Linked DNA regions of Homo sapiens: region 2 is linked to region 1. Evidence: promoter capture Hi-C in human tissues and cell types (Jung and others, 2019). All regions are on one chromosome and are shown on one strand. The core of a region is centred on a gene start or on the middle of the fragment in contact, and the rest is flanking DNA. Distances in the headings are between cores, read along the strand shown. Region 1 holds the start of ATRIP (ATR interacting protein). Region 2 overlaps SHISA5 (shisa family member 5).

Region 1 (4,879 bases), core at 826-3,325:
AATATGACAGCAATCTGACTTAAGTGGGATGATTGGAACATTTCCCTAGGGAAGACTTGAAGGAGCTGAGAGCTGAAGGACAAGTAGGAATTAACCAGATGAGTGGAAATGAATGAATGAAAAGTATACTCAATGTACAAAGAAAGAACAATGTATAAAGTTCCTGTATTGTAAAGAAGCAGAGAGAATTCAAAGAATGTTAGTGCAGCCAGGACCCAGAGAGTGAGAAAGGGCCAAACCAGGCTGGGCCTTTCAGGCCATGTTAAGGATTCTGGTCTTCACACTAGAAGAAATAAGAAATTATTAAAGGGCTTTCATTAGGGGTGTTCATGGCTGGGTGCGGATGGCTCATACCTGTAATCTCAGCACTTTGGGAGACCAAGGCGGGTGGATCACCTGAGGTCAGCAGTTTGAGACCAGCCTGGCCAACATGGCGAAACCCCGTCTCTACTAAAAATACAAAAATTAGCCAGGCATGGTGGCGGGCACAAGTAATCCCAGCTACTTGGGAGGCTGAGGCTACTCGGGAGGTTGAGGCAAGAGAATCTCTTGAACCTGGGAGGTAGAGGCTGTGGTGAGCCAAGATGGCATCACTGCACTTCAGCCTGGGTGACAGAGTGAGACTCCGTCAAAAAAAAAAAAAAAAAAAAGGGTGTTCACGTATATCTGTGTAAGACACAGCCAGATTTGAGTTTTGAAAAGATCACTCAGAATGTGATGTGAAGCCTCACTTGTAGGGAGTCAAGACTGGAAATGGGAAACCAATTTAGCAGACCATTGTTCAAGAGAGGACTCATGGTAACACAGATCAGGCAGCTGGTAGAAGCAATGTGAATAGGATAGACTCCAGAGAAGGATTAAGAAGGTAAGCTTGACATGCTTTCCAAATAAATTAGATGTAGAGTCAAGGAAAGGGGAAGAGTCGCTTTGTGCCACTGGATGGAGAGTCGTGCTAGTTACTTCCTTGTGGAACATCTGGTCATCATTCTCTGAATGTCTGCTTTGCCGGCACCATGCTAGAAGTGCTGGAGGAGGACTGGGTTTCCAGGAAATGATCGTGTTGAGTTTAAGGTGCCTTGAGACACCCAAGTACAGATGCAAGGTGCACTCAAAACATTTCTCTTTCTGGGAGTCCTCAAGACTTCACTCACTCCTCAACTAGAATGTAAGCTCCATGAAGGACAGTTTTTGTATTTTGTTCATTGTAAGGTCAGCTGCAGTTCCTCACGTTTGGGCACCTAGCACAGTTTACTGGTTGTATAAAAGAATAAATTTATTTCATCTCTTGCCTGTGTCTGGCTCCTCCCATGCTCACACTGCCCAAGGGAGACAGTGGGCTTCATAAGATCTAAAGCCGCTCAAACTTGTCACAAGAATGGGTCCCCATGCATGGGTAGTGATGGTTCTGATGGTGGTGGTAGGTGTGTTCCAAGGATCTCTGCTTAGAACCAAGAACCAAGTGGCCTAAACTTTAGAAAATAACGTAAAATGTCAACTTAGCCTTCTGTGTTTCAAATCGGCTGTTTGACCTGGCTAATGCATTTCCCCCTAAAATCAAAGGACCTTCTGGAAGACAACCGCTGCTTAAATCAGGGTGTTCCCATATTTTAAAAAGGCGAAAAGGCAGTGCTGGCCGCGAGGTTCCGAAGCCACAGCCATCAAGGGGATCTGGCGCGGTTGACAACTCCCTCCGAGCAAAAGGCCGCGAGGAGCACTCACTGGACACGTCCCGAGCCGCGGCCGGACATTGGCTCAGGGCCTGTGACGCGAGGGTGTCAAGCTCCTCCAGGTCGTCGGCAGTGAAGTCCCCATGCGCGCCGAACGGGTCGTCAGGGTCCGGGGCAGCGGCTGCGGAGAAGCCCCGGGCCCGCTTGCTCGGGGGGTGCCCGGTGCCCGGCGGCGGGCCGGGGCGAGGCGCCGGGGGCTCGCTCCGCCTCTTGCTGCCTGGCGCGGAGGTCCCCGCCATGCTTTCCGCTCACCCCAAGTATCCGACAGCGCCGAGCTAGACTTGCCTGCCGCCAGGCCGGAGAACTGGACCAACCGTCCGCGCGCCGCCGCTTGCCTCCGCCGCGAGTGCCCCGCCCCTGGCCCAGGGGCCAATCAGCTGGCAGGCGGAGGGCGCGGAGGAATGACGAACGTCCGAGCGCGCCGCCACACCCGGCCCCGCCCGGTGTTTAGAGGTCCACGGGCGGGATTCGGCAGGTTTGCTGCAAGGACTCAGTGCGGCGCGACCCGTTACCGGAGAGGCGGGCCGGAGGCGCACCAGCTCCGCCGCGCTGGTGGCTTTGCGCTCCCTCCCTGGCATTCCGTGGAGGAGGGCCGCGCAGGAGCAGCCTGCCCTAGCATTCACGCGTGTTGCGTTTGAGTCGAGCCAGGCATCATTCAGGGATGTGGTCTCCGTGACCTCGCTTTCCTTCTGCCGCCAGACCCACCTCCCACAAACCCCTAGGCTTTCTTGAGGAGAGTGGAATTTGTTGGGTGAGGAGTATGAATAGAGCTGTCGTGTGCAGACATCTTCGGGTTTAGTGAATGTTTCACATGTGTACATTTGAGGTAGGCCCAGGGAGGAGGAAAGTCCAAGGAGGAATGATGTTTGGAGCTGTTCTTGTGTGGGAGGGGGTGGGAGCTGCTCAGGCTGTTAACATCCATTCCTCTGAGTGCTGGACTGTTTTTTTTTCCTAAGCTCTGGTTGTATAGAATAGGGCTCAGGAGGTCAAGGAAGTCCCCCTGTAAATGGCACCTGCGCTGTCCTACAAGTTGAGTCAAGTTAGCAGGATAGAGGGGTAGGAGGCTGGCACATAAGACTAACACGAGAATTCTACATTGAAAGGGAGGCCACACAAAGGCCAGGTAAGAGTTACCGGTGGCGAACAGAGGTAAAGCTTCACAAAGGAGCAGCAATTTGAGGTGGGCTTGCGTGCCTGACAGATTTTATTGGGCAGCTGTGGTGTGCAGAAGTTAGCCGCAATAGAGAATTTGGCAATGGAGAGTAACAGGAGCAAGACTCTTTCAGCCTTACCTGCTCAGTGCCAAACTTCACCTGTGAGTGTCCTAGGAATATTTGTGAAAGCATTAAATGAAAAGAGTAAATGAAAAAGAGAGTGCTATCAGGGCCTATAATGTCTAAGGAGTTTAAAATTTTTTGGAGCAACTGGTAGTCTCCGTCAGATAGCTTCCCAAGTGTTGCATGCTTAATTGCTGCAGGACTCTGGTCCTGGAAAGAGACAGGACTGTTCATTTGTTAAAGAGGGATAGGTTCCACCAAGTAACTTGCTTTCAGGAACAGTGTGAATCACTGGTGCTCAGGTTTGTTTTAGCAGCATACGGCTGGGTGCCAGCTAGCAAGGCCCCACAGGGAATGCCTGAAGCCTACTGAAGGGTGCTACTGGCTGTGCAACTTTCTGGAGAGGACCAACACAGGCTTCCCCCTGCCCCCTCTCCCGCGTTAATATCTAGTACATTAATCATGAAAGTTTTCAATATTCTAAAACCTAGTTTTGATTTAGCAGTCTCATAATGGTTCCAGAGCGCTCTTCGACAATATTCTCAGAGAAAGCTGAGCATTATTAACATAATTGTATTAAGGGCCTGGGAGGGAAATCCAAATACTTGTGCTTCTGAATTAATTTTTTTTTTTTAAATACAGGGTCTTGTTCTGTCTCCCAGGCTGGAGTGCAGTGGTGTGATCTTGGCTCACTGCAGCCTCGAACTCCTGGGCTCAAGTGATCCTCCCACCTCAGCCTCCCAAATGGCTGGGACTACAGAAGTGCACCACCACACCCAGCTAAGCATTTTAAAACATATTCAGCACACATTATGGATGGTCTCTGTCTTTGCATTTATTGAGGGGCAAGCGGTAGGTATGCCTGGGACTCCAGTCCTGGGCAGCAGGAGGTAGAGTGAGCCCCCATTTTGCCTCACCCCCAACCCCTTGCCTGGCACTGGCACCCCCTCCATCCACCAGCAAGTGGGCTGGGGCTTCCCGCAGCTGCTGCCCTGGACCTGTTTGGTGCGCATGGGGACTTCACTGCTAGCAACTTGAAGGATCATGTAATTTGCCCTGCCCTGCCTCTTCCACAGTAGAGAAGTTCCTTGACAACAGGAACTGTTCCGTTACATACCCCAGTGCCTGCATATAGCAGACGCCTTACATGAACAGATGAACAAGTCTCATCAAAATATACGGCAATTTGGATGTGACAACATAAAGATGGGTTTTCTTTTAAAAGCACAAATTCTGGTCAGGCACAGTGGCTCATGCCTGTAATCCCAGCACTTTGGGAGGCTGAAGCAGGCAGATCACTTGAGGTCAGGAGTTTGAGACCAGCCTGGCCAACATGGTGAAACCCCTCTCTACTAAAAATACAAAAAATTAGCTAGGCATGGTGGCGGGTGCCTGTAACCACAGCTACTTGGGAGGCCAAAGCAGGAGAATAGTTTGAACCCGGGAGGTGGAGGTTGCATTGAGCAGAGATCATGCCACTGCACTCCAGCCTGGGTGAGAGTGAGACTCCACCCCCTCCCCCACCAAAAAAAAGTGCAAATTCTTCCACTAAACTCATGTAAGGTATTCTGTCAGGTATACAACCACACAAGAACGCCATCCTTTCAAATGAGTTGGTTTAATTTCAGGTGATACAAAGTTTAGGGTAGAACAAGGACCAAAGAACAGACTCTGGCAAGATTCTGAGCTGGTTTTACTTTAAATTCACAGTTATGGTAGGAACGACTTAGTGAAAACAACTAAAGAGATGATGAGCCACTGTAAGATTTTTCTTTTTTTACAAAAGTTTATTCTTAAATGTACAACAGCTCCAAGACAACACTTAATTCCAGCTATACGTGGCAAAAGATGTTATGGCAGGGAATAGAGAGGTTT
Region 2 (4,879 bases), core at 1,470-3,969, 42 kb before region 1:
GAAATACATTGGTTAGGCCGGGCGCGGTGCCTCACACCTGTAATCCCAGCACTTTGGGAGGCCGAGGCGGGCGGATCACGAGGTCAGGAGATCGAGACCATCCTGGCTAACACGGTGAAACCCCGTCTCTACTAAAAATACAAAAAATTAGCTGGGCATGGTGACGGGCGCTTGTAGCCCCAGCTACTCGGGAGGCTGAGGCAGGAGAATGGCGTGAACCTGGGAGGCAGAGCTTGCAGTGAGCAGAGATCACGCCACTGCACTCCAGCCTGGGCGACAGAGCGAGACTCCATCTCAAAAAAAAAGAAGAAATACATTGGTTTGGTCCAGAAAGGTGGGACGACTCAAAGGGCGGGGGGTTGGGAGGGTGGGGAGCTTCTAGCCTATAAGTGAATTTAAACGTTTTCTGTTTGACAATTGGTTGAGTTTGTCTAAAGACAAAATTGATTGATAGAAAAGGAATGTTCAGATTAAGATAAAGATTGTGGAGCCCAAAGTTCTTCTGAAGTCTTCTAGTGGCTGCCCTTAGAGACAATAGATGACAAATGTTTCCTATTCAGATTTTAGTTACTCTCTTTAGGATTGGGAGGGTCTGGAAGGAAAAGATCTAGCTATGTTAATAGAGATTCTTTACAGATGCACATTTTCTCCCATAGAGAACAGCTTTGCAAGGTCATTTCAAAATATGGCAAAGAAACATGTTTTGGGGTAAAATGTTTTGATTTTTTTTCCTTGTCTCTTAATGTTATGCCAGAGTCAGGTTGGAAAGTAAATCATGATATATAGGGTTAAATAAAACCCATTTGATGAGAATTTATGATTTGTAGGGCATGACTCCCCAGGCCCCTTAGATAGGAATTTGGGCGAGATAAAAAAAATCAGAGTTTAGTTCTCAGTGCCAGGCAATTCTAAATTCTAGCAAGACAAACTCCAGTAGACTTTAAGCCTTGGGAATAATCCTCTTTGGCTGGACACTCTGCCCTCTGGACCCACTGTGATGGGGGCTGCACCCCCATGGCTCTGCTGGGTGGTGGTCCTGGCCTTCAAAACTGAGGTGGCCGGCCAGGTGCAGTGGCTCATACCTGTAATCCTACCACTTCGGGAAGCCGAGGTGGGCGGATCACCTGAGGTCAGGAGTTTGAGACCAGCCTGACCAACATAGAGAAACCCCATCTGTATTAATAATGCAAAAATAGCTGGGTATGGTGGCGCATGCCTGTAATCCCAGCTACTTGGGAGGCTGAGGCAGGAGAATCGCTTGAACCCAGGAGGTGGAGGTTGTAGTGAACCGAGATTGCGCCATTGCACTCCAGCCAGCCTGGGTGGCAAGAGCAAAACTCCGTCTCAGAAAAAAAGCAACAACAACAAAAAAAACGGAGGTGGCGGCAACCTGGTTCCGGCCTGTGCACTCTGGGCCTGTGGTGGGAGTGGCAGCCTTGATGATTGAATTGTCTTTGAGGTCCTTTTCTTGTCTTTAAGAACACTGCACCTTGAAAATAGCGCTGCCAAGCATGATGGCTGACGCCTTTAATCCCAGTACTTTGAGAGGCTGAGATGGGAGGATTGCTTGAGCCCAGGAGTTCAAGACCAGCCTGGGCAATATAGTGAGACCTCGTCTCCATGATTTTTTTTTTTTAGTTAGCTGGGCATGGTAGCATGCACTTGTAGCCCCAGCTACTCAGGAGGCTGAGGTGGGAGGATTGCTTGAGCCTAGGAGATCAAGGTTGCAGTGAGCTGTGATCACACTACTGCACTCCAGCTTGGGTGGCAGAGTGAGACCCTGTCTCAAAAAAAAAAAAAAAAAAAAAAAAGGCCAGGCGCAGTGGCTCAAGCCTGTAATCCCAGCACTTTGGGAGGCCGAGGCGGGCGGATCACAAGGTCAGGAGATCGAGACCATCCTGGCTAACATGGTGAAACCCCGTCTCTGCTGAACAAAATAGAAAAAGTTAGCCAGGCATGGTGGCGGGCGCCTGTAGTGCCAGCTACTCAGGAGACTGAGGCAGGAATGGCGTGAACCCGGGAGGCAGAGCTTGCAGTGAGCTGAGATCATGCCACTGCACTCCAGCTTGGGTGACAGAGTGAGACTCTGGCTAAAAAATAAAAAAATAAAAAAATAGCTGTAGCAGGGGTGTCCAATCTTTTGCCTTCTCTGGGCCACTTTGGAAGAAGAAAATTGTCTTGGGCCACACATAAAACACACTAATGATAGCTGATGAGCAAAAAAAAAAAAAAAAAAATCTCATAATGTTTTAAGAAAGTTTAAGAATTTGTGTTGGGCCACATTCAAAGCCATCCTGGCCTGAATGTGGGCCGCTGGTCACAGGTTGGACAAGCTTGCTCTATGGCCCAGTCCTGTAGGATCTTAGATGTCCGACAGCCTTCCTTCACTTCATCCCCTTTCTCCCCTCTGGCAGGTGCTAGGGTGACTGATTAGGTCTGTGATTCATACCCATTCTAATCTCCTTACCTCGCAGTTTTTGGACTACTCTCTTAGTATTTACAGTATGGATAGGCTGAGAATTGTCCAGATTTTTAAATTCTAGTTCTTTTTTTGCTTAACAATTCATTTCTCTTTTTTCACTTTTTTTTTTTTTTTTTTGAGACGGAGTTTCGCTCTTGTTGCTCAGGCTGGAGTGCAATGGCATGAGCTCAGCTCACCGCAACCTCCACCTCCCGGGTTCAAGTGATTCTGCTGCCTCAGCCTCCCTAGTAGCTGGGATTACAGGCATGTGCCACCACGCACGGCTAATTTTGTGTTTTTAGTAGAGACGGGGTTTCTCCATGTTGGCCAGGCTGGTCTCGAACTCCCGACATCAGGTGATCTGCCCGCCTTGGCCTCCCAAAGTGCTGGGATTACAGGCGTGAGCCACCGCGCCCGGCCTTTTCACATTTTACTATAAGCAGTTGGCTGGGTGCGGTGGCTCACGCCTGTAATCCCAGCACTTTGGGAGGCCAAGGTAGGCGGATCATGAGGTCAGGAGATCAAGACCATCCTGGCTAACATGGTGAAACCCCATCTCTACTAAAAATACAAAAAGTTAGCCGGGCATGGTGGTGGGCACCTGTAGTCCCAGCTACTCGGGAGGCTAAGGGAGGAGAATGGCGTGAACCAGGGAGGCGGAGCTTGCATTGAGTCGAGATTGGGCTACAAGCAAGACTCTGTCTCACAAAAAAAAAAAAAAAAAAAAAAAGCAGTCAAGAGGATCCAAGCTGCTCCTTCAACACTAAGTATCCCATATATTTCAAGTTTTCCTCTGAATTGCTCAATCTTTTGTTTAATCTCTTTAAGCTCTTTTTTCCTTTAATCTCACTGTGTAATCTTTAAACAGTGTATGTGTTGTTATTCTAATGTCAGTGTCTGATAATTTCAGTATTTTAAGGCAAATTTTTCTCCTTAGCTTCACTGGTTTTCCTTCAAATGTATTAGGGTATAATTGTTTATAATGCTTTTAAATTTTGTTTTGTTTAACATCTAAAGAAATATCCCCCATGGGTACTTCTTTTGTTTTGTTTTGTTTTGGTTTGGTTTGGTTTTTTGAGACGGAGTCTCACTCTGTTGCCCAGGCTGGAGTGCAGTGGCATGATCTTGGCTCACTGCAACCTCTGCCTCCCAGGTTCAAGCGATTCTCCTACCTCAGCCTCCCAAGCAACTTGGGTTACAGGCATGTGCCACCATGCCCAGATAATTTTTTTGGTATTTTTAGTAGACAGGGTTTTGCTATGTTGGCCAGGCTGGCCTTGAACTCCTTACCTCAGGTGATTCACCCACCTTGGCCTCCCAAAGTGCTGGGATTACAGATGTGAGCCACTGCGCCCAGCTGGTATTTCTTTTTTTGTGTGTGTGAGACATACAAGGTCAGTATAGTAAAAAAATCTATTAAACTTCTAATTAAAAATATAATTTCAAAAGACGTTTCCAATAGCATCAAAAACATCAAATACCTAGGAAAGACAAAATTTCTACACAGAAAACTATGAACCATAAACTGTAAAACATACAAACTGTGTATTTATAAAACATATAAACATACAAACTATAAACATTAAAACGTATAAACTGTATGTTCATAAAGCATATAAACTATGTAACTATATAAACTATAAAATACATAAAACATTATTACAAAAAATCATAGCCCTAAATAAATGGAGGCATAGACAGGGCTCATGAATTGGAAGACCATATTTTAAAGATATTGATTCCCCTCAAATTGGTATATGGAATTTGTTAAATTTCAGTTTTAGAAAACTCTTGGCAGGCGCATCTGTGTGGGAGTGTGTGGGAGTGTGTGTGTGTGTGTGCGTGTGCGTGTGTGTGTGTGCGCCTATGGACATTATTATATTTTTTTAATACTGATGGGATCTCCCTATGTTGCCCAGGCTGGTCTTGAACTGCTGGGCTTAAGCAATCCTTCCAACTTGGCCTCCCAGAGTGCTAGGATTATAGGCATGAGCCGCCACACCTGGCCACCTGTGGGTTTTTCTTTTCTTTTCTTTCTTTTTTTTTTTTTTGAGATGGAGTCTTGTCTCTGTCACCCAGGCTGGCGTGCAGTGGCTCAGTCTCGGCTCACTGTAACCTCCACCTCCCGGGTTCAAGTGATTCTCCTGTCTCAGCCTCCCGAGTACAGGCATTGCAGGGATTACAGGCATGCGCCACCATGCCTGGCAAATTTTTATTTTATTTTATTTTATTTTTATTTTTAGTAGAGACAGGGTTTCACCATGTTGATCAAGCTGGTCTCAAACTCCTGACCTCAGGTGATCCACCCGCCTCCGCCTCCCAAAGTGCTGGGATTATAGGCGTGAGCTTATAATCTATTATAATATATATATAATCTATATATATAATATATAATATATAAAATCTATAATCTATATA

The links. The method cuts DNA at HindIII sites, captures the fragments that hold promoters and counts their contacts. A contact is called where the count stands out against the background at its distance.
Region 2: a fragment that was not itself captured here is called in contact with the fragment with the promoter of ATRIP in region 1 in 1 of the 25 tissues and cell types used here (aorta).

What each region holds. Positions count from the first base shown.
Region 1 is chr3:48,443,933-48,448,811 of GRCh38, reverse strand. It overlaps ATRIP (ATR interacting protein), which reads right to left and starts at 2,075. Exons shown (of 13, transcript NM_130384.3): 1 at 1,720-2,075. The coding sequence starts at 1,966. It overlaps ATRIP-TREX1 (ATRIP-TREX1 readthrough), which reads right to left and starts at 2,033. Exons shown (of 15, transcript NR_153405.1): 1 at 1,720-2,033. TMA7 (translation machinery associated 7 homolog) reads right to left here. Exons shown (of 4, transcript NM_015933.6): 4 at 4,604-4,879. It also overlaps a transcript of CCDC51 not described here. RefSeq lists a silencer at 1,771-2,130. The HindIII fragment of the contact is 4,147 bases long and covers 1,877-4,879 here.
Region 2 is chr3:48,486,554-48,491,432 of GRCh38, reverse strand. The region is part of intron 2 of SHISA5 (shisa family member 5); the gene reads left to right. Among named protein-coding and RNA genes, the nearest start is that of SHISA5, 15 kb to the left of the region's middle. The HindIII fragment of the contact is 5,851 bases long and covers 1-4,879 here.